Regions from separate parts of the Homo sapiens genome. Here region 2 is linked to region 1. The links are contacts of gene promoters, found by promoter capture Hi-C in blood cells and fetal thymus (Javierre and others, 2016). All regions are on one chromosome and are shown on one strand. The core of a region is centred on a gene start or on the middle of the fragment in contact, and the rest is flanking DNA. Distances in the headings are between cores, read along the strand shown.

What was found. Contacts are between HindIII fragments. The CHiCAGO score rates a contact against its expected background, and 5 or more counts as called.
Region 2: a contact is called between a fragment that was not itself captured here and the fragment with the promoter of FADS3 in region 1, in 4 of 17 cell types (erythroblasts, M0 macrophages, neutrophils and 1 more). The highest score is 8.9, in erythroblasts.

The regions. Positions count from the first base shown.
Region 1 is chr11:61,887,040-61,894,944 of GRCh38, reverse strand. It overlaps FADS3 (fatty acid desaturase 3), which reads left to right and starts at 3,400. Exons shown (of 12, transcript NM_021727.5): 1 at 3,400-3,776. The coding sequence starts at 3,564. RefSeq lists silencers at 2,692-3,501, 3,602-3,731 and enhancers at 3,932-4,101, 3,691-4,379, 4,380-5,069, 6,671-7,172. The HindIII fragment of the contact is 11,072 bases long and covers 1-5,590 here.
Region 2 is chr11:61,936,584-61,944,488 of GRCh38, reverse strand. It overlaps a transcript of RAB3IL1 not described here and the pseudogene RNU6-1243P. Among named protein-coding and RNA genes, the nearest start is that of BEST1, 9.8 kb to the left of the region's middle. RefSeq lists enhancers at 311-812, 1,982-2,636 and a silencer at 5,821-5,969. The HindIII fragment of the contact is 6,471 bases long and covers 34-6,504 here.

The DNA of each region.
Region 1 (7,905 bases), core at 2,151-4,650:
CCAGAACATTTTCATTTCACAAAACTGAGACTCTGTACCCATTAATCAACCCTCTATTTCCACCTCCTCCCAGCCCCAGGCAACCCCCATTCTACTTTCTATGAATTTCACTGCACGAGGGCCCTCATTTAAGTGGATGATGCAGTATTTGTCCTCTCATTACTGGCTTCTTTCACTTCATGTCCTCAGTGTCCATCTGTTGTAGCATGTGACAGGATTTCCTTCCTTTTTAAGACTGAATAATATTCCATTGTATGCATAGACCACGTTTTATTTTTTATTTTTAATTTTATTATATTATAATTAATTATTACTCCAGGCTGGAGTGCAATGGTGCGATCTCGGCTCACCGCAACCTCCACCTCCTGGGTTCAAGCCTTTCTCCTGCCTCAGCCTCCTGAGTAGCTGGGATTACAGGCATGCGCCACCATGCCTGGCTAATTTTTGTATTTTTAGTAGAGACAGGGTTTCTCCATGTTGGCCATGATGGTCTCAAACTCCTGATCTCAGGTGATCCGCCCGCCTCAGCCTCCCAAAGTGCTGGGATTACAGGTGTGAGCCACCGCGCCTGGCCTGACCACGTTTTGTTTATCCAGTGTCTGTGGATGGACAGTTGTGCTGCCTCACAATGACCTCTTGGCCATTGTGAATAATGCTGCTAAGAAAATAGATGTACAAATATCTCCTCAAGACTCTGCTTTCGGTTCTTTTGGGTATATGCCCAGAAATGGAATTGCTGAATCATAGGCATTTTAAAGCCATTTTCATACTCTTTTCTATAGTTGGCTATAGCACTTCACATTCTTACCCACAATGCACAAGGGTTCTGCATCATTGCCAACACGTGTGATTTGATTTTTTGAGACCAGGTCTCCCTCTGTAGCCCAGGCTGGAGTACAATGGCATGATCTTGGGGCACTACAACCTCTGCTTCCCAGGCTCAAGCGATCCTCCTACCTCAGCCTCCTAAGTAGCTGGGACTACAGGCGCACGCACCACCATGCCCTGCTAGTTTTTTTTTTTTTTTTTTTGTAGAAATAGGGTTTTGTCATGTTGCCCAGGCTGGTCTCGAACCCCTAGGCTCAAGAGATCCTCCCAAAGTGCTGGGATTACAGGCGTGAACCACCATGCCTGGCATGATTTTTTCATTTATGTATTTATTTATTAAAGACGGGGTTCCTGCTATGTTGCCGAGGCTGGTCTTGAACTCCAGGGCTCAAGCAATCCTCCTGCCTCGGCCTCCCAAAGTGGTGGGATTCCAGGCCTTTTTCTTTTTTATAGGAGCCCTCCTAACAAGTGTGAGACAGTATTTCATTGTGGTTTCATTTGCAGCTCTCTGATGATTAGCAATGCTGAGCACCTTTTCGTGTGTGTGTTGCCCATTTGTGTGCAGCCCCTCTTTCCTGAGGAGCATTCTGAGGAGCTCCGCCTGGCCTCCACAGTGATCCCTTCGAGGAGGACTTGGCCAATAGGGCTGTGATCCCTGCCCTCACTCACGGCTCTTGCATGATTCTGTGGCCCCCCCTTCATCTTCCCCATCTCTTCTGGGGGCAGCTGGGGAAAGTGGAGGTTCTAACCTATCACAACCCCCAACCACCTCACACACAGGGGCTGAGACCAGGCCAGGGCTGGCTCCAAGGAAGAAGCCCCTAGGATGGCCACATCTGACCACTCAGGGCTGCTGAAGGTGGGGCCAGGGCCAGGTCCATGCCTTCAGTGGATTTTGGTGCAGGGGATGCATTCCTTCAAGAATCTGCCTTCTCCATTCCTGTGCTGTGTGAACATGGTACGGGGTAGGGGTGCCTGCAGCCCCCTTGGGCCAGGGCCACCAGCCATGCTCTTGCACCCCCACACACATGTGCCAGGTTGGGGTTCCAGGATATGGTCAGTGGGTGCCTCAGTGGAGAGGGCCCAGGCAGCCCCGGTGCCTGATGACATCATGGGCCTTGCTGGATGTCCTGACAAGCAAAGGCAGGAGCTCCTGGTACCAGGGAGAACTCGCCCCCTCTGCCCTTCTGGGGATACTGGTCCTCTTTAGACCAAGACAAAATATTAGCATATCAGAGAAATATACTTAGGGTTTTCTAAGTGCATTTCCCCAACCAGCCGGTCAGCATCACCTGTGAACTGGCCATGTAAGTCTCTGCCTCCACACCAGACCCACCGAATAACCCTCCTGGGTGGTTCTGATGGAAGCCTTTCAGGTGGTTCTGATGGAAGATTGACGACCAGCGCTCTGGAAGTAACTTTAGCCTGATTTGAATTCCTTGCTGCTGTGAACGCTTAACTTTTAGGAACAGGTATATTTATCACAAAGAAATCCGAAGCAATTAGGGGAGCTACCTACACTTTCAAAAGGACTTGAATGTATTTAAATTAAAAAAAGCGGATGGGGCCCGGGTGCAGTGGCTCATGCCTGTAATCCCAGCATTTTGGGAGGCGGGAGGGTCACTTGAGTCCAGGAGTTCAAGACCAGCCTGGGCAACATGGCAAGACCCATTTCTACAAAAATAAAATAACACCAAAAATTAGCCGGGTATGATGGGGCGCGCCTGTAGTCCCAGCTGGGGACTCCCGAGACTGAGGTGGGGGTATCTCCTGAGCTTAGGATGTTGAGGCTGCAGTGAGCCGACATCATGCCACTACACTGCAGCCTGGGCGACAGAGTGAGACTCCTGTCTCAAAACAAAAAAGAGGGGCGGGGAAGCAGTAACAAGCACAGGTGTCCTCAGCCCATGGATGGCAGCGCCCGCCTCCACGCGCCAGTGCCCTCCTGCTCCCCTACCTCCCCCTTGGCCACCCCTGGGCATCCCCAGCCCTGCAGCGCCGAGGGCGGAGGGGAGGCCACCCGCCCCCAGCAGAGGGCTCCGAGAGAGCTGCAGCGGCGGTGGGGGCCCCGCAGAGATTGGGGCCCATGGTTTGAAGGCTGTTCACAGGCACCCCGAGACAGCGTCCCCCCTCTGGGCGCACTGGATTTGACGTTGCAGGACGCGCGGCTGGAAGCCCCCCAGGCCCCGCTGCTCACAGACCGGGACTCCGCCTCCGGTTCCCGAGGGCGTGGCGAGGCGCTGCGGGACGCCCAACAGGTGCGTGTTGTGTCCCCAGGCCCCGCGCTCCGGGTGGAGTCAAGAACCTGGAAGCCGGCAGCCCGGGAAAAGGGGGCGGGACGGTGCCCCGGGGCAGGGCTGGGTGGCGGCCGCTGTCCTCCCGGGAGGGGCGGGCCGCCTCGACGCCGCCCTCCCTGGCGGCCAATGGAGACCGAGGCCCCGCGCCTGGATTGGAGCGGACGCGGGGGGTCAGCCAGCCTTGGGGGCCGGGGCCTGGCCGGGGGCGGGGGGGCAGGCGAGGCGAGGCGGGCGCCGTCCGCGCGGTTATAAGGCGGGGAGTTCCCTGCGCCGCGAGCCGGGAGGCGCACGCTCGCTCGTACGGCGGCCGCGGCGGCAGGGCGGGGCCGGAGCAGCGGGCGGCGGCGGAGGCGGCGCCCGGGAGCGCTCTTCGCTTCCCTCGGGGTCTTGCTCGGACCTCGGCCACCGCCTGGGATCCCCAGGACTCGTGCGTGCAGCATGGGCGGCGTCGGGGAGCCGGGACCGCGGGAGGGACCCGCGCAGCCGGGGGCGCCGCTGCCCACCTTCTGCTGGGAGCAGATCCGCGCGCACGACCAGCCCGGCGACAAGTGGCTGGTCATCGAGCGCCGCGTCTACGACATCAGCCGCTGGGCACAGCGGCACCCAGGGGGCAGCCGCCTCATCGGCCACCACGGCGCTGAGGACGCCACGGTAAGGAAGCCATAAGGAAGCCACCCACCGGCGGGTGGAGCCTGGAGCTCGGTCGTGGGCGTGATGTCCCGCTCCACCTGTGGGGCCTTAGCATCCTCCCTCCCCTCGCTGACCTTTGACCTCCACGCCGGGACCCAGAGTTGGGGTGGACTAGCCAGGGCCAGATGTGGGGTAGGGAGGGCAGTTCCCTGCGTGGAGGACCCGCAGCTGTCCACGGAGCAGGTCTGCGGGGGAGGAGGGGGCCTCAGAGGTGGGTGTGTCATGCTGCAGAGCCTGCCCTGGGTGAGGGGCTGCCCTGTTGCTCCCAGGTCCCTGTTTCAGTTCTGGGTCCCCATGCTGGGTGCTTGCTGAGTGCTAGGGGTAGGGCAGGGCAGGGTCCCCAGGGGCCGGTAAGGACATGCCATTAGAGGCTGGGGGCTGGGCCGGCCTGAGGTCTGTGGCTTTCCCAAGAGCTTCTGTAAAGGGCTCAGGGACAGTGACTCACCTCTCCGGGCTAGCAGCTGCACGTGGGAGGGCTTTGCCAGCCAGGCTGGGTGGGCCTCTCCTGGAAGCACAGTCACCCCAGGAACAGGCTGGCCCCTGGGGACCCCAACTTCCCAATCCCAGCCCCTGTCTAGACAGGCAGGGATGTAGCCTGGCCCCAGGGTACTGTCTGGCTGGAGTCCAGTGGTGGAGCAGCCCGACCAGCCCCTTTTCCTTAGTTACCCACCTGCATAATAGGGGTTGGGGCCACGATGCCCTGTCCTTGACCCTCCAAATTTCTAGGTTGGCCACACTGGGTATCAGGAAGGTCTTCAAGACCCGAGGACATGAATCCTGAATGCTGGCTTTTTGGGCAGCAGCGGAGGTTCTGTCCAGTCCCAGGACTGTCGGCGTCCCTCTTGACAGGGCCACCTGCTCTCTGCCGATTGCCATCTCCAGCATGTTGGACAATCTTCACTGGACTCTTTGAGGAAGAAAGCCCCTCTTTTCCCCTTCCACCCCATGAAGCTGAGGAGTGAGAATAAGAATCCTCCTGAAATTCTAAAAAAAGAAAAAAAAAAAAAAGAGAACGCCTTGTCCGTGGCTGTTCAGGCGCCAGACGCTGGCCCGAGGGGACAGCACAGCCGTGGGATGAAGCAGCCTGGGGGCAGTATTTGAGCGTGCAGGTGTTTGCATGTCTGGGTGAGTGTGGTGTGTGTGCCTGCCTTTCTGCCAGGGCGTGGCGAGGTGAGGGGCACGGCTTCTCCCCAAAGGCCTTGCTGAGCCCTGGCCTCCCTTCAAGGAGTCTTGTGGATGCCTGCTCTGGTCTTTTTCTAAAAAAGTATCTATTTTATTTATTATTATTTGTTTAAAAATAGAGACAGGGTCTCACTATGTTGCTCGGGCTGGTCTCAAAGTCCTGGGTTCAAGCATTCCTCCTGCCTCAGCCTCCGAAAGTTCTGGGATTACAGGCATGAGCCACCACTCCCGGCCTGCTCTAGTCTTTTGTAACCTAGAGGACAGTATGGATACAGAAAACTTTACTCCCCACCAACCGCCGGAGACAGAGTCTTGCTCTGCCACCCAGACTGGAGTGCAATGGCGCCATCTTGGCTCACTGCAACCTCCGCCTCCCAGGTTCAAGCGATTCTCCTGCCTCAGCCTCCCGAGTAGCTGGGATTACGGGCACGCGCCACCACGCCCAGCATATTGTATTTTTAGTAGAGACGGGGTTTCACCATGTTGGCCAAGCTGGTCTCGAACTCCTGACCTCGTGATCCACCCACCTCGGCCTCCCAAAGCGCTGGGATTACAGGCGTGAGCCACCACGCCCGGCTGGGATACAGAAAGCTTTTATTTCATCACTGTTTCCTGCCTGGTGCCAGGCCCATGCTGGGGTTCCTCCCAAGTGGAATTACTGACTTAACATTTAGCTTGGGATCCTGAGACTTCCATCACACAGTTTTCTCATTGATTCGCAGCCAATAATATCTGTTTTAAAAACATCTCAGGCCGAGCGCTGTGGCTCACACCTGTAATCCCAGCACTTTGGGAGGCTGAGGTGGGCAGATCACCTGAGGTCGGGAGTTTGAGACCAGCCTGACCAACATGGAGAAACCCTGTCTCTTCTAAAAAAATACAAAATTAGCCAGGCGTGGTGGCGCATGCCTGTAATCCCAGCACTTTGGGAGGCTGAGGCAGGAGAATCGCTTGAACCCAGGAGACGGAGGTTCCGGTGAGCCGAGATCGCGCCATTGCACTCCAGCCTGGGCAACAAGAGCAAAACTCCGTCTCAAACAAACAAACAAAAAACATCTCTCTGCTCCTTGGGGCCGGGTGCCAGCTCTGCTATTGGAGGCACTGAGCGACCTTGAAGCAGGCATGTCACTCCTCTGTGCCCCAGTTTACTCATCTGTAAAGTGGGAGAGCTGGGGCAGACAGTGAGCTGGCTGAGGGCAGGACTGTGTCTCCTCAAGCCCATGGCCCAGGGCTGCCAGGTAGTAGTTTGTATTCGGTAAATGCTGCTGGCCCCTAAGTGTGAGCGTGCCCTGCAAACTGCAGCGTATGGTGGGACAGCCCTGCACGGCTACCCCTTTCCTGGGTGACCTTATTTGGTTACGGTCCTATCTGAAGTAGGAAAGGGACACTTTAGGCTGTCTCTTAGCTCCCTCAAGGCCCCACAGCCTGGACTAGAGTTGCCAGAAATACTTGGTCCATTCAGGCCAAAGGGACTGTGAGGTTGCTGGGATGGTGCAATCAGTCTTTGTCCATGATGAACCCACAGGGTAGACCAGGGGTTGGGCCAGCCCAGTGCCCTGTGTAGTTGAGCCCAGGCCCCAGGCATCCCATCCCGGGCGGTGGCCTCAGGTGGAGGTGGGGCAGCCAGTTGCCAGGGATGTGTTCCAGCGGTCACCTCTCACCAGCCCCGGCTGCCCATCAGCTGTTCTCAAGTCCAGGCAATGAAGCCTTCCTGCCAGGAAATTCCCAGAGTTTCTGTGCCATGAAGTCAGCCTGTGGCCATCTTGGGACACAAGGCCGGGTGCCCTGGGGAGAGTACTCTGGGCCCTTGGCCAGGTTTGTCTGAGAGTCATAGGCAGCCTGATACTAGTGGAGCCAGCCAGGGAGGGATGAGGCCCAGCCGCTGCTGGCCATAAGTATATAAGGGCCATGTGCTGAGTGCCTACTATGTGCCAGGTTTTGAAATCAGTACTTGATTTATTGAAACCCTCTCTTTTAATCCTCAAGGTGCCCCTATGAGGCACGTACCATTTATTGTTATTGCCACTTGACAGATGAGAAAACAGAGGCTCAGAGAGGCAAAGTGGCTTGAAATTCAGTGATTGGTCTGGGATTTGAATCCACAGCCATGTTCTTAAGGGCATGCTATGCTGCCACCTATCCTGTTTATTTCCGGCACTCATTGATTCTTCAATGTTTGACTCATTAAATCCATCAGTGAGCATCTTCTCTGTGTCATGCATGGTTCTCACCTCTGAAGATGTAGCTGTGAGCAAAACTTCTACAGGGAATGAGTTCACAGCAGAGGGATCAGCTAGAGCAAAGGCTCAGAGGTGGGACCGTGCGTCCTGTGTTCCAGGAATACAGTATGGCTGCAGCAGAGAGCAGTGGAGAGAGGGCCTGGCAGTGAGGTCTAGAGGCGGCCGGGCTGGCTCATGCTGGATGTTTGTGTCCTCGGAAGGACTTTGGCTTTATTTTAAAGAGGATGGGGAGCCCCAGAGAGCACAGCAGGGAAGCCTGGGGAGTCTGATGGACATTTAAAAGGATCCTTAATGGAGAGAGTGAAGGCAGAGCCTTCCAGAAGGGTAAGAGAAGGGAGGATGGAGACCTGCCCTCCCCCAAGGGAGGCCACTCAGAAGAGGTAGAGTGTGGCCAGGGCAGAGAGCAAGAGAGGCTGTGGACACAGGCACACTGGTCCAGTGAGAGCCATTAGACACATTAGATTTAGCTTCATGTTGTCTTTAGAGAGGGAGCCAGCCTGGCCTCGCTCTATGATCTTGGACACATCCTTTCACTTCTGGGTCTCAGTTTCCCCATTAGTGTGATGAGGATGAGAATGCTTTTGTCCTGGGCACACTATGAGGGTGGTGCTGGGCACCTGGGTGCCTGGTTACCATGGGCAACAAAGCTCTATTCATGGGTGTGGTGA
Region 2 (7,905 bases), core at 2,020-4,519, 50 kb before region 1:
AGGTCTGGGGCCCAGTTACATCATTTGGAAGCTTGTTACCAATGCAGAATCTGCCCTGGTGCAGTGGCTCACACATACAATCCCTACATTTTGGGAGGCTGAGGTCGGATGATTGCTTGAGCCCAGGAGTTTGAGGCTGCAGTGAGCTATGATCACACCAGCTCAGAACTGCAGTCCAGACTAGGTGACAGAGCAAGACCCTGTCTCAACAAAGGAGGGAAGGAAGGAAGGAAGGAAGGAAGGAAGGAAGGAAGGAAGGAAGGAAGGAGGGAAGGAAGGGAAGGAAAGGAAGGAAGGGAAGGAAGGGAAGGAGGTAGGGAGGACTCCATTCTGTAGGTCGTCTTTTTTACTTTGTTGAGGAGGTTCCTTGATGCACAAAAGTTTTTAATTTATTTTGAAGGAGGGAGGAAGGGAGGGGAGGGGAGGAAGATTCATGTATGCCTGCTTTATACAACTATAAGAGAGATTTAAGACTATTGCTTACAATTCAAAAGGACTAAATGCTTGTTATAAACAATTAGGAAACTACAGAGCAGTTTAAAACAAAACAAAACAAACTCCCAAACAAGGTTATCATTTTGATGTATTTCCTTCCAGTCTTTTTTTTATAATTTTAATATTGAGGGGCAATCCGTGTCCTGTAAAATTCACCTTTTCCACTTATGTATGTAGTGTTTACATATTTACTGATGCTAAAGCCATCCTAGTAGGTGTGCAGTAGTATCTCATTGTGGTTTTGATTCTCATTTCCCAGATGGCAAACGATGTTAAGTATCTTCTCATGTGCTTATTGGCTGTTTGTTTATCCTCATTGGAGAAATGTCTATCCAAGTCTTTTGCCCATTTTTTCAGTTGGATTGTTTGCCTTCTTGTTGTTGTTAGAATTATTTATATATTCTGGATACTAGACCATTATCAAGCACGTGATTTACAAATATTTTCTCCCATTCTGTAGATCATCTTTTTTACTTTCTTGAGGAGGTTCCTTGATGCATGAAAGTTTTTAATTCATTTTGAATTTTAAACATTAAAATTTTAATTTAGATAAATTTTGACACTGTCAAATCCAAGGTCATGAAGATTTACCCGTACGTTTTCTTCTAAAACTTCTATCGCTTTAGTTCTTACATTTAGGAATTTGACCTATTTTGAGTTAATTTTTATGTATCATTTGAGGTAAAGGTCCAACTTTCTTCTTTTGCATGTAGCTATCCAGGTGTCCATGTATATTTGTTGAAAAGCATATTCTTTCCTATTGACTTGTCTTGGCATACATGTTGAAAATCAATTGATAATACATATATGGGTTTATTTCTGGACTATCAATTCTATTGAGCTATATGTCACTTCAATATTTCATTGTTTTAATTATGTAGCTACGTAGAAATTTCGAAACCAGGAGTGTAAGTTCTCCAACTTTGTTCTTTTTCAAGATGGTTTTAGCTATTTGGGGTCCATTGCAATTCCATGTGAATTTTAGGATCGCCTTGCCCATTTCTGCAAAAAACGCAGTTGGAATTTTGATGGGGATTACACTGAGTCTGTAGATCACTTAGTCATCTTTACAACATCAAGTCTTCCAATCCATGAACATAGGATGTCTTTTCATTTATTTAGGTATTCTTTAGTTTCATTCACCACTGTCGTAGGGTTTTCAGTGTACAAGTCTTGCATCTTCTTGGTTAAAAATATTCCGAAGTCTCTTATTCTTTTTAATAAGAATAAAGTTCCATTTTGTAAATGGCATTATTTTCTTAATTTTATTTTCAGATTGTTTATTGCTAATGTATGGAAATACAGCTGATTTTTGTATATTAATCTTGTATCCTGTAACTTTGCTGAATTTATTTACTAGCTGTAATAGTTTTTGTGTGGATTCTTTAGGGTTTACTACATATAAGATCATGTCATAATTTGCCAGGTGCAGTGGTTCATGCATGTCATCCCAGCATTTGGGGAGACCAAGGAGGGAGAATTGTTTGAGCTCAGGTGTTTTTTGTTTGTTTGTTTGTTTGTTTTTTAATTTATTTTTTTATTGATAATTCTTGGGTGTTTCTCACAGAGGGGGATTTGGCAGGGTCATGGGACAATAGTGGAGGGAAGGTCAGCAGATAAACAAGTGAACAAAGGTCTCTGGTTTTCCTAGGCAGAGGACCCTGCGGCCTTCCACAGTGTTTGTGTCCCTGATTACTTGAGATTAGGGAGTGGTGATGACTCTTAACGATCATGCTGCCTTCAAGCATCTGTTTAACAAAGCACATCTTGTTTGTTTGTTTTGAGACGGAGTTTTGCTCTTGTTGCCTAGGCTGGAGTGCAGTGGTGCGATCATGGCTCACTGCAACCTCCATCTTCTGGTTTCAAGCGATTCTCCTGCCTCAGCCTCCCAAGTAGTTGGGATTACAGGAGCACGCCACCATGTCTGGCTAATTTTTGTATTTTTAGTAGAGGTGGGGTTTCACCATGCTGGCCAGGCTGGTCTCAAATTTCTGACCTCAAGTGATCTGCCCGCCTAGGCCTCACAACGTGCTAAGATTATAGGCATGAGCCACCATGCCTGGCCTTTACACTGATTTTCATATGTTCAACTACCTTGCTTGCATTCCCATGATAAATCCCACATGGACACGATGTATAATCTTTTTAACATGTTGCTGGATTGGATTTGCTAGTATTTGGTTGAGGATATTTGCATCTATATTCATAAGGGATATTGGTCCGTATATTCCTTCTTTTTTTTGAGACAGAGTCTTGCTCTGCTGCCCAGGCTGGAGTGCAGTGGTGCGATCTGGGCTCACTGCAAGCTCCGCCTCCTGGGTTCACGCCATTCTCCTGCCTCAGCTTCCCGAGTAGCTGGGACTACAGGTGCCTGCCACCACACCTGGCTAATTTTTTGTATTTTTAGTAGAGATGGGGTTTCACCACATTAGCCAGGATGGTCTCGATCTCCTGACCTCGTGATACACCTGCCTCAGCCTCCCAAATTGCTGGGATTACAGGCGTGAGCCACCACGCCCAGCCTGGTCTTTATATTTCTTTCCTTGTGAGATATTGTCTGGCTTTAGTTTTAGGATAATACTGGCACAAGAGAATGGGTTATGAAGTATATTCTTCTCTATTTTTTGGAACAGTTTGTGGATTGGCATTTATTCTTTATTTGCTCCTAATCGTTTCTCTATTGGAAGTTTTTTGATTACTGATTCAATCTTGTGTTTGAGGTCTATTCAAGTTTTCTGTTTCTTCTTGAGGAAGTTTTGGTTTCTAGGCATTTGTTCATTTAATCTAGGTTATCTAGTTTGTTGTCATACAATTTTTCATAGTGTTCTATAATTCTTTCTGTATCTGTAAGGTTGGTAGTAGTTTTTCTTTTTAAAATGTTTTATTTATTTTATTATTTATTTATAGAAACAGAATCTCACTTTATCACCCAGGCTGGAGTGCAGCTGTGTGATCATAGCTCACTGCTACCTTGAATTCCTAGGCTCAAGGGAGCCTCCTGCCTCAGCCTCCCAAGCAGCTGGGATTACAAGCACGTGCCACAGTGCCTGGCTAATTTTTACATTTTTTTTTTTGAGATGGAGTCTTGCTCTGTTGCCCAGGCTGGAGTGCAGTGGTGCATTCTCGGCTCACTGCAACCTCCACCTCCCGGGTTCAAGTCATTTTCCCACCTCAGCCTCCTGAGTAGCTGGGACTATAGGCAAGTGCCACCATGCCCCGCTAATTTTTGTATTTTTAGTAGAGACAAGGATTCACCATGTTGCCCAGGCTGGTCTCAAACCCCTGACAAGTGATCCGCCCACCTCGTCTTCCCGAAGTGCTGGGATTACAGGCGTGAGCCACCGCGCCCAGCCTAACTTTTAAACTTTTTGTAGAGATAGGGTCTCACCATCTTGCCCAGGCTGGTCTCGAACTCTTGGGCTCAAGGAATCCTCTCGCCTTGGCCTCCCAAAATGCCAGGATTACAGGCATAACCACTATGCCTGGCCACATTTTTATTTTTAATTTTTATTCATTCATTTATGTATTTACTTTTTTTTTTCTTTTTTTTTGAGACGGAGTTTCACCCTTGGTTGCCCAGGCTGGAATGCAATGGCATGATCTCGGCTCACCGCAACCTCCACCTCCCAGGTTCAAGTGATTCTCCTGCCTCAGCCTCCCGGGTAGCTGGGTTTACAGGCATGCGCCACTATGCCTGGCTAATTTTGTATTTTTAGTGGAGACAGGGTTTCTCCATGTTGGTCAGGCTGGTCTCGAACTCCCGACCTCAGGTGATCTGCCAGCCTCGGCCTCCCAAAGTGCTGGGATTACAGGCGTGAGCTACTGCACCCAGCCTATGTATTTACTTTAGAGACAGCATCTTGCTCTATCACCCAGGATGGAGAGAAGTGGTACGATCATAGCTCACTGCAGCTTTGAACTCCTGGGCTCAAGGCAATCCTCCTGCCTCAACCTCCCCAGTAGCTAGGACTACAGGCACGAGACACCATGTCCAGCTAGTAGTAATTTTTCTACTTTCGTTCCTTTTTTTTTTTTTGAGACAGAGTCTCACCCTGTTGCCCAGGCTGGAGTGCAGTGGCAAGATCATAGTTCACTGCAGCCTCAATCTCCTGGGCTCAAGTAATCCTCCTGCCTCAGCCTCTCAAATAACTGGGACTACAGACATGTGCCACCACACCTGGCTAATTTTTTAATATTTTATTTTTAGCAGAGACAAGGTTTCCTTATGTTGCCCAAGCCGGTCTTGAACTCCTGAGCTCAAACAATTCCCCCGCACTGGCCTCCAAAAGTGCTCAGATTACAGGCGTGAGCCACTCCAGCCTTATTCCTAACTTTAGTAATTTGAGTCTTCTTTTTTTTTTTTTGGTCAGTCTAAAGTTTCATCAATTTTCTTGATCTTTTTGAAGAATCAACTTTTGTTTTCATTGATTCTTTCTGTTGTTTTTCTCTTTTCTATTTCATTTATCTCCACTCTTAATTTTTATTCTTTCTTTTGCTTGCTTTGGGTTTAGTTTATTCTACTTTTTCTAGTTCCTTAAATTGGAAGTTTAGGTTATTAATTGGAGATCTTTCTTCTCTTTGATGTAGGTTTTTACAGCTATAAATTTCCCTTTGAGTACTGCTTTTGCTGTATTCGATAAGTTTTGGTATGCTGTATTTTCATTTTCATTCATCTCATCTAATTTCTCTTGTGATTTTTTCTTTGATCCGTGGGGCAGTTAAGAGTGTGTTGCTTAATTCCCACATATTTGTGAATTTTTCACTTTTAATTCTGTTATTTCTAATTTCATTCCTTTGTGGTTGGAAAGATAATTCATATGATTTCAATTCTTTAAAATTTATTAAGACTTATTTTGTGGTCTAACATATGGTCTATCCTGGGGAATGTTTTATGTGTACTTTGAGAAGAATGTATATTCTGCTATGGTTGGGTAGAGTTAGCACTGTTCAAGTCTTCTATGTCCTTATCTAGTGTGTAGTTCTAGCCATTATTGAAAGTGAAGTATTGACGTTTCCAACTATTCTTTTTATTTATTTATTTATTTATTTATTACTTTTTTTTATTTTTTGAGACAGAGTCTTGCTCTGTTACCAGGCTGGAGAGCAGTAGCACAATCTTGGCTCACCGCAACCTCCACCTCCCAGGTTCAAGCCATCCTCCTGCCTCAGCCTCCCAAATAGCTGGGATTACAGGCACACACTGCCATGCCCAGCTAAATTTTGTATTTTTAGTAGAGACAGGGTTTTACCATGTTGGGCAGACTGGTTTTGAATTCCTGACCTCAGGTGATCTGCCCACCTCGGCCTCCCAAAGTGCTGGGATTAGAAGCATGAGCCACTGTGCTCAGCCGATATTTCCAGCTATTCTTGCTGGCCTGTTTCTACTTTGAATTCTGTCCATTTTTGCTTCAAATACTTTGAGGACTCTCCTGTTAGGTGAAATATATAATTGTTATATCTTCTTGATGAATTGAACCTTTTATCATTACAAAATGTTTCTCTTTGTCCCTTGTAACAATTTTTGCCTTGAGGTCTATTTTTTATAATATTAGGATATCCACTCCAGCCCTCTTTTTGTTAGTTTTCATGGAATATATGTAGTATTTAAATACAGAGTCCCTTGTCACTCAAGCTGGAGTGCAGTGGCTGCAGCCTCAAACTCCTGGGCCGAAGGGATCCATCCTCCCACCTTAGCTTCCTGAGTAGCTGGGACTACAGGTGTGTGCCACCATACCAGGTTTTTTTGTTTGTTTGTTTGTTTTAGTAGATAGCATAACTTCGTTGCCCAAGCTGGTCTTGAACTCCTGGCCTCAAGAAATCCTCCCACTTCAGCCTACCAAAGGGCTGGAATTACAGGCGTGAGTCACTGCCCCTAGCCTGGAATATCTTCCATCCTTTCACTTTCAACAATTTGGGTCATTTGAGCTAAAGCGAAGCTCTTGTAGACAGCATATATAGTTGGATCATGTGGGGTTTTTTTTTAATTTTTTAATTTTATAATGGAAAGCTTCACAAATTTGCATGTCAACCTTGCACAGGGGCCACGCTAATCTTCTCTGTATCATTCCAATTTTAGTATATGTGCTGCTGAAGTGAGCACTGGATCATGTTTTTTTTAAAAAAAATCAATTCTACTAATCTCTGCCTTTCAATTGGATAATTCAATCCATTTACAGTTAATGTAATTACTGATAAGGATTTATTCCCATTTTGCTATTTTTTATATGCATTATATATTTTTGTTTTTTTGTTCCTCAACTCCTTCATTATTGCCTTCTATTGTGTTAAATATTTTCTAGTGCCCCATTTTGATTCTCTTTTTTTCTTTTGATTCCCTTCTTTTCTTTTCTTTTAGTTATTTTCTTAGTGGTTGTCTTGGATATTGAACAATTTGGCTGGGCATGGTGACTCAAGCCCTACCACTTTGGGAGGCTGAGGTAGGAGGATTGCTTGAGGTCAGAAGTTTGAGACCAGCCTGGGTAATAAAGAAAGACCCCGTATCTAGCCACCCCCCCACCAAATTAGCCAGATGTGGTGATGTGCACCTGTAGTCCCAGCTACTCAGAGGCTGAGGTGGGATGATCACTTGAGTCCAGGAGTTCATGGCTGCAGTGAGCCATAATCGCAACACTGCACTCCAGCCCAAGCAACAGAGCAAGACCTGGTCTCAAAAACTGCAACTACAACAAAAAATTTAAATAATAATATTTAACAATCTAATTCTAATTAATACCAACTTAGTTTCAATAGCATGCAAAATCTTTGAACCTCTATAGCTTCATCCCCTACCTTTCATGTTTTTATTGTCAGTAATTACATTTTTATGCCTTACATGCCCATCAACATAGATTTATGGTTATTGTAGATGTATTTTAAATTATATAAGGGAAAAAAGAGGAGTTTAAACTAAAAATACAGTAATACTAACTTTTATATTTATCTATGTATATTTACCTATGTATTTATTTTACTGATGTTCTTTATTTCTTCATGTGGTTTTGAGTTACTATCTAGTGTCCTTTAGTAGCAACCTGAACAGCTCCCTTTAGCATTTCTTATATGGCAGGTCTACTAGCGACAAACTCTCTCGACTTTAGTTTATCTGAGGATGTCTTGAGTTCTCCTTTTTTTTCTGAAGGATAGCTTTGCCAGATATAGAAATCTTAGTTATATATAGATAGATATAGAAATCTTAATCCTCTTTTGTTTGTTGGTTTCAGCATTTTCTGAATATATCATCCCACTATCTGGCCCCCATGGTTTCTGATGAGAAATAAACTGTTAATCTTATTGAGATTAGCTTATATGTGATGAGTCACTTTTCTCTTGTTGTTTTCAAGATTCTCTCTTCAGGCGGGGAATGGTGGCTTACGCCTGTGATCCCAGCACTTTGGGAGGTCGAGGTGGGTG